Linked DNA regions of Homo sapiens: region 1 is linked to region 2. Evidence: promoter capture Hi-C in human tissues and cell types (Jung and others, 2019). All regions are on one chromosome and are shown on one strand. The core of a region is centred on a gene start or on the middle of the fragment in contact, and the rest is flanking DNA. Distances in the headings are between cores, read along the strand shown. Region 1 overlaps AHI1-DT (AHI1 divergent transcript). Region 2 holds the start of PEX7 (peroxisomal biogenesis factor 7).

Region 1 (3,469 bases), core at 732-3,231, 1.3 Mb after region 2:
ACCATCACCACCATCAAAGCCATAAATATATTCATCACCTTGGAAAATTTCTTCTGCCCTCCACTCCTTTTTTTTTTGTTCTAAGGACACTTAACATAAGATCTACCCCCTTAGCAAATTTGTAGTATATAATACAGTGTTTTTAGCTATAGGCACTACGCTGCACAGTAGATCTTCAGAACTTATTTATTTTGCATAACTGAAACTTTATGTTCTTTAATCATCACCTCCCCACTTCCCCCTTCCCCTAGTCCCTGGAAACCACTGTTCTAATCTTTGCTTTTATGAGTTTGACTATTTTAAATTCCATACATAAATGAGATCATATTTGTCTTTCTGTGTCTGGCTTATTTCACAGCATAATGCCCTCTAGGTCTATCCATGTTGTCACAAATGGCAGGATTTCCTTCTTTTTTAAGGCTGAGTAATATTCCATCGTATGTATAGACCACATTTTCTTTATCCATTCATCTGTCAGTAGACATTTAGGTTAACAACAAACCCTTGAACAACCAATAGGTCAAAGAAGACATCAAAAAAGAAATTTTAAAAACTTGAGACAAATGAAAATGAAAACACAGCATACCAAAACTTATGAGATGCTGCAAAATTAGTTTTAGGAGAGAAGTTTATAGAGATAAAGCCTGCTTTAATAATAATTTAGAATTTTGTCAAAGGCCTTTTCTGCATCTATTGAGATAATCATGTGGTTTTTGTCTTTGGTTCTGTTTATATGCTGGATTACATTTATTGATTTTCATATATTGAACCAGCCTTGCATCCCAGGGATGAAGCCCACTTGATCATGGTGGATAAGCTTTTCGATGTGCTGCTGGATTGCGTTTGCCAGTATTTTATTGAGGATTTTTGCATCAATGTCCTTCAAGGATATTGGTCTAAAATTCTCTTTTTTGGTCGTGTCTCTGCCCGGCTTTGGTATCAGGATGATGCTGGCCTCATAAAATGAGTTAGGGAGGATTCCCTCTTTTTCTATTGATTGGAATAGTTTCAGAAGGAATGGTACCAGTTCCTCCTTGTACCTCTGGTAGAATTCGGCTGTGAATCCATCTGGTCCTGGACTCCTTTTGGTTGGTAAGCTATTGATTATTGCCACAATTTCAGAGCCTGTTATTGGTCTATTCAGAGATTCAACTTCTTCCTGGTTTAGTCTTGGGAGAGTGTATGTGTGGAGGACTTTATCCATTTCTTCTAGATTTTCTAGTTTATTTGCATAGAGGTGTTTGTAGTATTCTCTGATGATAGTTTGTATTTCTGTGGGATCGGTGGTGATATCCCCTTTATCATTTTTTATTGCATCTATTTGATTCTTCTCTCTTTTTTTCTTTATTAGTCTTGCTAGCGGTCTATCAATTTTGTTGATCCTTTCGAAAAACCAGCTCCTGAATTCATTAATTTTTTGAAGGGTTTTTTTTTTTGCTGCTATTTCCTTCAGTTCTGCTCTGATTTTAGTTATTTCTTGCCTTCTGCTAGCTTTTGAATGTGTTTGCTCTTGCTTTCTAGTTCTTTTAATTGTGATGTTAGGGTGTCAATTTTGGATCTTTCCTGCTTTCTCTTGTGGGCATTAAGTGCTGTAAATTTCCCTCTACACACTGCTTTGAATGTGTCCCAAAGATTCTGGTATGTTGTGTTTTTGTTCTCGTTGGTTTCAAAAGGCATCTTTATTTCCGCCTTCATTTCGTTATGTACCCAGTAGTCATTCAGGAGCAGGTTGTTCAGTTTACATGTAGTTGAGCAGTTTGGAGTGAGTTTCTTAATCCTGAGTTCTAGTTTGATTGCACTGTGGTCTGAGAGACAGTTTGTTATAATTTCTGTTCTTTTACATTTGCTGAGGAGAGCTTTACTTCCAACTATGTGGTCAAGTTTGGAATAGGTGTGGTGTGGTGCTGAAAAAAATGCATATTCTGTTGATTCGGGGTGGAGAGTTCTGTAGATGTCTATTAGGTCCGCTTGGTGCAGAGCTGAGTTCAATTCCTGGGAATCCTTGTTAACTTTCTGTCTCGTTGATCTGTCTAATGTTGACAGTGGGGTGTTAAAGTCTCCCACTATTATTGTGTGGGAGTCTAAGTCTCTTTGCAGGTCACTCAGGACTTGCTTTATGAATCTGGGTGCTTCTGTATTGGGTGCATATATATTTAGGAGAGTTAGCTCTTCTTGTTGAATTGATCCCTTTACCATTATGTAATGGCCTTCTTTGTCTCTTTTGATCTTTGTTGGTTTAAAGTCTGTTTTATCAGAGACTCGGATTGTTAAAAACTCTCAATAAATTAGGTATTGATGGGACGTATCTCAAAATAATAAGAGCTATCTATGACAGACCCACAGCCAATATCATACTGAATGGGCAAAAACTGGAAGCATTCCCTTTGAAAACTGGCACAAGACAGGGATGCCCTCTCTCACCACTCCTATTCAACATACTGTTGGAAGTTCTGGCCAGGGCAATTAGGCAGGAGAAGGAAATAAAGGGTATTCAATTAGGAAAAGAGGAAGTCAAATTGTCCCTGTTTGCAGACGACATGATTGTATATCTAGAAAACCCCATTGTCTCAGCCCAAAATCTCCTTAAGCTGATAAGCAACTTCAGCAAAGTCTCAGGATACAAAATCAATATACAAAAATCACAAGCATTCTTATACACCAATAACAGACAAACAGAGAGCCAAATCATGAGTGAACTCCCATTCACAATTGCTTCAAAGAGAATAAAATACCTAGGAATCCAACTTACAAGGGATGTGAAGGACCTCTTCAAGGAGAACTACAAACCACTGCTCAAGGAAATAAAAGAGGATACAAACAAATGGAAGAACATTCCATGCTCATGGGTAGGAAGAATCAATATCGTGAAAATGGCCATACTGCCCAACGTAATTTATAGATTCAATGCCATCCCCATCAAGCTACCAATGACTTTCTTCACAGAATTGGAAAAAAACTACTTTAAAGTACATATGGAACCAAAAAAGAGCCTGCATCACCAAGTCAATCCTAAGCCAAAAGAACAAAGCTGGAGGCATCACGCTACCTGACTTCAAACTATACTACAAGGCTACAGTAACCAAACAGCATGGTACTGGTACCAAAACAGAGATATAGATCAATGGAACAGAACAGAGTCCTCTGAAATAATGCCGCATATTTACAACTATCTGATCTTTGACAAACCTGAGAAAAACAAACAATGAGGAAAGGATTCCCTATATAATCAATGGTGCTGGGAAAACTGGCTAGCCATATGTAGAAAGCTGAAACTGGATCCCTTCCTTACACCTTATACAAAAATTAATTCAAGATGGATTAAAGACTTAAATGTTAGACCTAAAACCATAAAAACCCTAGAAGAAAACCTAGGCATTACCATTCAGGACACAGGCATGGGCAAGGACTTCATGTCTAAAACACCAAAAGCAATGGCGACAAAAGCCAAAATTGACAAATGGGATCTAAT
Region 2 (3,050 bases), core at 551-3,050:
TCTACAAAAATAAAAAATCAAAAATTAGCCAGGTGTGATGGTACATGCCTGTGGTCCCAGCTACTGGTGAGGTTGAGACAGGAGGATCATATGAGCCCAGGAGGTGGAGGCTACGGTGAGCTGTGATTGCACCACTCTACTCAACCTAGGCAACAGGGTGAGACCCTGTCTCTAAAGAGAAAAAGAAAAAAGAAAAAAAGAAAACTACTACCATTATAGACTCATGAGTCTTCAGTCTAACTGGTGGGCCATGTAAATCTGAATGTGCAAGCACTAAGAGCTAATAATGAAAATAAATCAAGTATTTCTCTGAGTTTTAGAAGTAACATTTTTTTCTGCTGTAGGACAAAACAAAAAAATACAATAGACCACTGACATTATGAAATGAGTTTTTGCATCTCGCTTCAGTGCGTATAATAGCTAGGACATGAATTAAGGCAAAAGCGAGAATGAACCTACGCCTTTTCATCTAGTCCACGGACTAGATGGACTCTTTTTTTTGAGACGGAGTTTTGCTCTTCTTGCCCAGGCTGGAGTGCAATGGCACGATCTCGGCTCACCGCAACCTCTGCCTCCTGGGTTCAAACTATTCTCTTACCTCAGCCTCCCGAGTAGCTGGGATTACAGGCATGCGCCACCACGCCCGGCTAATTTTGTATTTTCAGTAGAGATGGGGTTTCTCCATGTTGGTCAGGCTGGTCTGGAACTCCCGAACTCAAGTGATCCGCCCACCTCGGCCTCCCAAAGTGCTGGGATTACAGACGTGAGCCACCGCACGGCGCTTGGCCTTTTTTCTTTTTAAGACGGGGTCTCAGTCTGTCACCCAGGCTGGAGTGGAGTGATGTGATCTCAGCTCACTGGGCTGGGGCAGAGTGATGTGATCTCAGCTCATTGTAGCCTCAACATCCCGGGCTCAAGCGATCCTCCCGCCTCAGCCTCCTGAGCAGCTTTAACCACAGGCTGAGCCAATGCGCGCGACGGGAGACAATTAACTGGAGTCTGTAACACCTACTTGCGAATGTGTGCATTCCTCGTTAGACAACTACAGGTAAGAACTGAACTTGATATATTTCATGGTGTCACCCGTGGGACTCCAGGCGTCCATTCAGGAGCATCGTCCTTAGGAAGGCCAGCCCGCAGGTCGCAGCTCAGTGCTCGAATGCAGACTGGGAATTGTGGGCCAACTCGCGAGCCCTGGGTCGGTTCTGGCTCAGACCGTCTTCCCCGTACTGCTGTGCCGAGCGGACCGATCCAAGGGACCGCGCAGGCTCCCCCGGCTCTCCCTACGGGGACGTGTGCCTGGGCGTGTGACACGTGGCGGAGGCAGCGCGGTCTCAAGGAACAAGGACACGGGCTACTAGGCTACACGTATATGCACTTGCACACAACTGGAAGATCGACTCCTGCTTCAGACCAACTCCTCGCACTCGGCAAAGAAAGGAGAAGCGCCGACCAGCGCCTCTTCTGCCCCCTGGCGTGGACCCGCGGAACCGTCTACGCTCAGAGGGGCTTTCCCTCGAGCGCGAGGAACTGGAGCCCGGCTGGCCCCCGCCTCCGCCTCCGCCCCCCGGCCCCAGCTGCGCGGCGCCGCCTCACCCGCGATGCCGTAGTGCTGCGCGGTGGCGCAGGCCAGGCGGCCCGGCAGGTACGGGGAGAACTCGGCGGCGTAGCCGTGGCGTCCCGGCGTCCGCAGCATCCGCGCCGCTCCACCGCACACCGCACTCATCCCGCCCGCCGCCCCCGGCCCTCGCTGCCCCGGCCGCGGAAGCCGTTCCGAGTCGGAGGCACACTGGCGCGGTTAGAGAGACCAGGCAGACCGGACGGAAGTGTGGGCCCCGTGCCCTGTGTTTGAGATTCTGATTGGTCCGCACAGGAAAGGGCGTTGACTCCGACGGAGACCATTTTTGTTTTGGGTGAATCCAAACTGAATTGCGCCTGCTGCAAAGATACAGATCTATCAGGGGAGTGATCCAGGGTTAGGTATTATTAATAATTACGACAGCTTTTGTCGTTGCATCTCAGCCTCCTCTGCGGTGCTATCTGGTTTTTATTTCATTGAGCGTTTGGAAGACTGGCATCAGGAACTTTTCCTGATGATTATAAAGTGAGAAAAGTTACAGCCGACTCTGAAACCACGCAGCGCGTCCAAAATTGCGTGCTGCGTTGCCCAAGGAAACTGGAAGCAATGAGAACTTAAGTCCGTGGAGTCACTGCGGTCTTTAGGAATAAGAGCGTGGGCTGGTGGGCTACTTTCACACTGTAACTGGAAAAGATGAAACACCAACTCCAAACCAACTCCCCATGCTTGGCAAGTGAGAAAAAGGAGCTGGCCAGTTCTAATGAAGCTAAGCAAAAAAGCAGCACATCATCATATACAACTTTTTTAAAAAGTATTACTATACATGTATATATTGTATGGTAATAAGTGCTCAGATGCTGGTGCTCATTCATTCATTTATTGCCAGGCATATACTATGTGGAGAATGACCAAATATAATTTATCTGCCAAACCAAGATACTTTTGAGAGTAAAGAGGGTGTAATTATTAAGCCAGGTCAACAGGCACAAACCAAGTCGTATGATCATCTTAACCATATACCAAGAACAGTACTAGGCATTTGGGATTCAAAATAATGGGATATGGTCCATGGCCTCAAGAGATTAGAGAAGAAGACTAAAAGAGAAGTCATGTAATTAGTTAAGTGTAATCAAAATACTGTAGAGGCTATGATAAATTTATATGGGGTATTTTTAAAAGGTGATTGTCCGTGCCAGAGGTATGGAAATTGCAGGAAAGGCTGCAGAAGAGAGATAAGTCTTTATGGTGATTGCACACAGATGAGTAGGTTTTCTTTAGGTAGACAAGAAGATGGAGATCTTTGTAGGAGCAGGAATAACATGAGCAACCCAGGAGATTTAAACCAGCATGATCCATAGGGGGTCGTGGCTGCCAGGACTCAGCCTGGCCAGATGGAAGGGATACGGTGAAAAAAATATTGGGTGGGGAGACTGTAGAGTGTTTTACTGGGGCTAGATCATGAAGAGTCTTA

What was found. Contacts are between HindIII fragments. The study calls those that stand out against the background at their distance.
Region 1: a contact is called between a fragment that was not itself captured here and the fragment with the promoter of PEX7 in region 2, in 1 of the 25 tissues and cell types used here (dorsolateral prefrontal cortex).

Annotation. Positions count from the first base shown.
Region 1 is chr6:135,510,441-135,513,909 of GRCh38, reverse strand. The region is part of intron 2 of AHI1-DT (AHI1 divergent transcript); the gene reads right to left. Among named protein-coding and RNA genes, the nearest start is that of AHI1-DT, 14 kb to the right of the region's middle. The HindIII fragment of the contact is 5,571 bases long and covers 1-3,469 here.
Region 2 is chr6:136,821,342-136,824,391 of GRCh38, reverse strand. PEX7 (peroxisomal biogenesis factor 7) reads right to left here and starts at 1,800. Exons shown (of 10, transcript NM_000288.4): 1 at 1,597-1,800. The coding sequence starts at 1,726. RefSeq lists enhancers at 1,190-1,349, 731-1,463, 1,464-2,196, 2,080-2,229 and a silencer at 1,520-1,899. The HindIII fragment of the contact is 8,253 bases long and covers 1-3,050 here.